2 separate regions of the Homo sapiens genome follow, and region 1 is linked to region 2. The links are contacts of gene promoters, found by promoter capture Hi-C in blood cells and fetal thymus (Javierre and others, 2016). All regions are on one chromosome and are shown on one strand. Each heading gives the region's core, a stretch centred on a gene start or on the middle of the fragment in contact. The rest is flanking DNA. Distances are from core to core; before and after follow the strand shown. Region 1 overlaps CSRP1-AS1 (CSRP1 antisense RNA 1). Region 2 holds the start of PHLDA3 (pleckstrin homology like domain family A member 3).

Evidence for each region. Contacts are between HindIII fragments. The CHiCAGO score rates a contact against its expected background, and 5 or more counts as called.
Region 1: a contact is called between a fragment that was not itself captured here and the fragment with the promoter of PHLDA3 in region 2, in 1 of 17 cell types (monocytes). The highest score is 5.0, in monocytes.

What each region holds. Positions count from the first base shown.
Region 1 is chr1:201,515,861-201,518,560 of GRCh38, reverse strand. The region is part of intron 1 of CSRP1-AS1 (CSRP1 antisense RNA 1); the gene reads right to left. All of the region lies in intron 1 of LOC124904484 (a long non-coding RNA gene), which reads left to right. Among named protein-coding and RNA genes, the nearest start is that of CSRP1-AS1, 10 kb to the right of the region's middle. RefSeq lists an enhancer at 1-210. The HindIII fragment of the contact is 1,771 bases long and covers 510-2,280 here.
Region 2 is chr1:201,467,776-201,470,475 of GRCh38, reverse strand. It overlaps PHLDA3 (pleckstrin homology like domain family A member 3), which reads left to right and starts at 1,288. Exons shown (of 2, transcript NM_012396.5): 1 at 1,288-2,135. The coding sequence starts at 1,690. The coding sequence ends at 2,073. RefSeq lists silencers at 1,019-1,248, 1,459-1,768 and enhancers at 1,269-1,388, 903-1,617, 1,839-1,978, 2,049-2,108. The HindIII fragment of the contact is 14,509 bases long and covers 1-2,700 here.

The DNA.
Region 1 (2,700 bases), core at 146-2,645, 48 kb before region 2:
ATGTGAAATGTTCAGGCCAGGCGCGGTGGCTCACACCTATAGTCCCAGCAGTTTGGGAGGCCTAGATGGGCTGATCACTTGAGTTCAGGAGTTTGAGACCAGCCTGGGCAGCAAGGCGAAACCCCATCTCTACAAAAAATACATAAAAATTAGCCAGACTTGGTGGCCTGCACCTGTAGTAGTCACAGCTACTGGGCAAGGGGGTAGAGGGTACTGAGGCAGGAGGATTGCTAGAGGCCAGGAAGTGGAGGCTGCAGTGAGCCGTGATTGCGCCACTGTGCTCCAGCCTGGGTGACAGAGCCAGGCCCTGTCTCAAAAAAAAAAAAAAAAAAAAAAAAATCGGAACAGGGAACAGGCAAATTTATAGAAACATAAAGTGGATAAGTACTTGTGTAACCACCCAATGGCTTCTCCTTGCCTGATACGCAGACAGAGCAGATTTATCAAGACAGGGGAATTGCAATGAAGAGTTTAATTTACAAAAACTTGGTGAAAGAGAGATAGAAGCTTTATTATTACTCAAACCAGTCTCCTGGAAAATTTGGAGACTGGAATTTTTAAGGATAATTTGGTGTGTAGGGGGCCAGGAAGTGGGGAATGCTGATTGGCTGGGTCAGCGATGAAATCATAGGGGGTCAAAGTGGGATTTTTCTTCCTGTCCTCTGTTCCTGGGTGAGATCCCAGAACTGGTTGAGCCAGATTACCGATCTGGGTGGGGCCAGCTGGTGCATCAGAATGCAGTGTGAAAAATGTCTGGAGCACTGATCTTAGGTTTTACAATAGTGATGTTATCTTTCGGAGCAATGGGGGAGGTTCAAAATCTCGTGGCCTGTCTGCATTAATCTTTTGAGACTGAGTCTCACTCTGTCGCCCAGGCTGGAATGCAGTGGCACGATCTTGGCTCACTGCAGCCTCCGCCTCCTGGGTTCAAGCGATTCTCCTGCCTCAGCCTCCCGAGTAGCTGGGACTACAGGCCCCCGCCACCACTCCCAGCTAATTTTTGTAATTTTAGTAGAGACAGGGTTTCACCATGTTGGGCAGGCTGGTCTCCAACTCCTGACCTCAGGTGATCTGCCCACCTCGGCCTCCCAAAGTGCTGGGATTACAGGCCTGAGCCACTGTGCGCCCGGACTGTCAGCATTAATCTTGAGGCTAATTTGTTAGTGCTACACAAGCAGTCTGGTCCCCAAGCAAGAAGGGGCTGTGTTAAGGGAAAAGGCTGTTTTCATCTTTGCTTCAAAGTTAAGTTATAAGCTGAATTCCTCCCAAAGTTAGTTTAGCCTCTGCCCAGGAATGAACAAGGGCAGCTTGGAGATTAGAAGCAAGATGGAGTCAATTAGGTCGGATCTCTTTCACTGTGATAATTTTCTCATTGCTGTAATTTTTGCAAAGACAGTTTCAGTTGCTAGGGATGTTGCAGGAAAAAGCAGGAGTGATTGCAAATGGGTACAGGCTTTCTTATTAGGTTAATAAAATGTTCTAAAATGGTCTGTGGCGATGATTGCAAAACTGTAAATATACCAAAAACCATTGAAATGTACACTTTAAAAGGGAAAATCATATGACATGTGAATTATATCTCTTTAAAAAAAAATGTTATCATATACCATATGTCTATGTGGGCTTCCAGCAACTCTTCTGGCGCTCCTGGAGTGGCCAGGTCAGGTATGACTAAGAATTCATGGTATGGCCTCTCTGTATTATCTGACTCTCCTCCCTCCCTCCCTCTCCCCCCCTCCCTCCTTTCTTTCCTTCCTTCCTTCCTTCCTTCCTTCCTTCCTTCCTTCCTTCCTTCCTTCCTTCCTTCCTTCCTTCCTCTCTCCTTTCCTTCCTTGCATGAACTAGATGCTACCCTAGGCACTGAGCATACAGATATTGACCAAGATCTAATCCTGTCCTCAAAGAGTTCACAACCTCATGATTGTCCTCAGCCCCCTGTAGCAAAGGAAACTTTTATTGGGACCACTTCTTTATACCCTGAGCTATGAAGAGTAAATCTAACCTTTCTAAAGTCACATACATCTGCACTTAGTGGGGGCTCAGGTGATGGAGCTCCAGTGCTCATAAGCAAGTGAAAAACATAAGGTAGATTTAATATCTTGTAGTTCTTTAGTCCTTCTCATTGCCAGGGTGGGTCACAGAATGCCCATAGTAAAGGAAGCCAAAGTCTCCTTCCTCTTTGGGTCTCAGGGTCCAGATATTGTGTAGCTGGAAGCTCACTACTGAGACACTCAGCAGCTGCCAGGCAGGCAAACTCCCTATTTCCCACACAGCCAAGCTTGACCACCATTATTCCTGGCTCGTGCACCCTTTCCTATAAAGTTGGTGGTTGACATGGAAGATCCTGGACATTCAGGTCATAGTGCCATCAAGGGCCTTGGGCTGTCAACCTCTGCTGTGGTCCTTGATCTCACTCCCTATTCATCTCTGTGAAGCTGCCTTCTAACCTGGGGCTGTGTCTTATCTCTGACCCAGCTCTTGCTCATGCATGATGACTGCTCCCTGCTTCCCTGTATTACCCCCAAATGATAGCTGTTATGCCTTGTGGTTGCTTGTGAAACTGCCTTTGCAAAATTATAACTGAGGAAATTATGACAGTAAAGAAATCAGACCTACCTAACCATTTTGCTTCTAACCTTTAAGCTGTCCTTGTTCATTCCTGGGCATAGGTGGAAATAACTTTGCCCTGAAGGAATTCAG
Region 2 (2,700 bases), core at 39-2,538:
GTCATTATTATATATCATTACTCCCGTAAGAATCTATTATTAACATGTTGATGAATAGACCTTTAAGAAACTGTGGGCCTGGAGGAACTGATCAAGATGGGGACAGAATGAGGACCTAAGAGAGCCCTCTTCCAGTGCCTGGCTTAATCTCAGGGCCCCCATCATTCTCTAAAGGGAATAAGAGTGGGGAGAGGGGAGGAAGAACATTTCTTGAGACTCAAGAGTTGTCAGGTCCTGTCTTGGGTCTTTCACAAATGTTATCCAACTTATTCATCAGGACAACCCCATGAGATGAGAATAAATTAATCCTCCTATTCGACAGATGAGGAAATTGACGGAGGTCAGTAAAGTTGCCCCAGGTGGGCAGGACACAGCCAACAAGGGAGAAGAGGTTTGAACTCAACTCTGCAAAGCTCTTGTGTTTACACAATATTCTAGCCAGAACAGAAAGAGACCTCTCCCTCTGCGTTCCCCTCCAGCTCTGTATGCGGGAGAAGTCCATTCTTGGGGAAGGCCGAGGGAGGACAGAATCTGCGGAGCGGAAGGAGCAAGGTTGGAGCTGCGCTTACACCTGGGACTGGCTGTGCCATCGGTCCAGCGTCGGCGCCTGCAAGTGTGCGGTGGAGAGGACTGCAGACAGTGGCATCCCCAGGTCACGGAGGGGGTCCCTCCTCCCCCACTACGAGGAGGGCATGAATGACCTCAAGCCTCAGCTCTCCTTTGTTGGCACTGGCTACTCTCTACAGGCCTCCCCGCGCAATGCATGGGGGTAGGAGTAGGAGCAGGTGAACTGTCCAAGCAGAGGCAGCGATGGACAGCCTCTCTTGGGTGCTGCACAGAGAAATCGGGCGATGGAGGAGGAACCCAACATGGGCTTGATGCAGAGGCTGGGGGCCCCATGGCGTGCCAAGTAACCAGCAGCTGTCTGACGCCTAACATGCAACTGGTGCCACTGCGCGTTCGCCAAGCAAGCCCACCCCCTTGCTAGCAGCGCGCTCTCCAATCGAGGAGATGCGCCTTCCCCCTCCCTTCCCCGCCATCTCCCCCTTCATTCAAGGCCTGGGGGAGCTGCGGTTCCGAGAAGCGGCAGACGGCAGCCAGAAGGCTTGGGCTGTTGAGTAAGCAGCCCCCTCTCAGTCCCGGCCCTCCCCGCCCCGCGCCCTGCGCCTCCAGTGAGTGACTGAGCCCCCGCTGCGGCCCCGCCCCCGGGGCCCTGCCGGAGCTGGTGCGCGGCGCGGAGGGGAGGGCCGGCCAGGGTAGGAATGCGCTGCGGGCGGGCGGCGCAGGAGGCGAGCGGCGGAACATGTAAGGGCACATCCCGCGAGCTGCCGCCCAGCGCGCAGACAGAGCCCAGGGGAGCAAGAGAACGGGCGGGCGGTGGGGCTCACGGCCTAGGGAGGCGCGGAGGCATCTGGCAGAGGCGGGTCGGGCTGGGCCAGCTGGGGTAGAGCGGAGGAGCGGGTGCCGGCTGAAGCGGGGCGGTGGGCGCGGAGCGCGCTGGGGGCACCGACACCACCTCACCGGCAGCCGGGTGCTGAGGGCCGCGGTGTGGGTGCGCGGAGCAGTCAGGGCGCAGGTGGGCAGCGCGCACGGCCTGCCAGCCCGGGGCGCCAGAATCCTGCGCTGCGGGGCCGAGAGGGGCGCCGCGCCCGCCGCAGCCTGGAGCTTTCCGCGAACCTCGGGGCGCCCATGACGGCGGCGGCGACGGCTACCGTGCTCAAGGAGGGCGTGCTGGAGAAGCGCAGCGGCGGGCTGCTGCAGCTGTGGAAGCGGAAGCGCTGCGTCCTCACCGAACGCGGGCTGCAGCTCTTCGAGGCCAAGGGCACGGGCGGCCGGCCCAAGGAGCTCAGCTTCGCCCGCATCAAGGCCGTGGAGTGCGTGGAGAGCACCGGGCGCCACATCTACTTCACGCTGGTGACCGAAGGGGGCGGCGAGATCGACTTCCGCTGCCCCCTGGAAGATCCCGGCTGGAACGCCCAGATCACCCTAGGCCTGGTCAAGTTCAAGAACCAGCAGGCCATCCAGACAGTGCGGGCCCGGCAGAGCCTCGGGACCGGGACCCTCGTGTCCTAAACCACCGGGCGCACCATCTTTCCTTCATGCTACCCACCACCTCAGTGCTGAGGTCAAGGCAGGTAAGCCCCCGGGGGACTGGGCCCTCTTCTCTCCTTCCCTCCCTTCTCTTTCCCCTACAGAGAGAATGAGGACTAGCATTCTACTTCAGAGCCGGACATCTTAGGGGGGAGGTTCCTGGGGCCAACTGAGGGCATGGGAGGCTTGGGCCAGTGGCCAACCCAGCAGATCCGGACTTTCCCCTGAGGCACCAGGTTGGCCGGTCCAGAATGTGATCCAGGTGTGTGAGAGGAAGATGGAAGCCCTGGGAGGGGGATACCTGGGTGAGATGAGCCTTCTTTCAAGTTGGTTCAGCCCTGACTCAGGTGGAAGGAAGTAGAGGGAGGTTGGCCTGCACATTGCCCCAGGCTGTGGGCCTCTGCTTTCCACGCAGAGCAGGGCTCCTGGACTTCGGCTTTCTGGCAGCTGAGGACAACCGAGGGTGGGGACGCGGATCGTGGAGGCCGACCCTCTTTCCCTCTAGGTTGAATGCTTGTCATAAAGTTTGAGCATTGAATTGATGTAGAAAGACAGTATCTCCCAGATGGCGAAGGCACCATCAAGGGTTGCAAATAGAGCCAAGGAGTC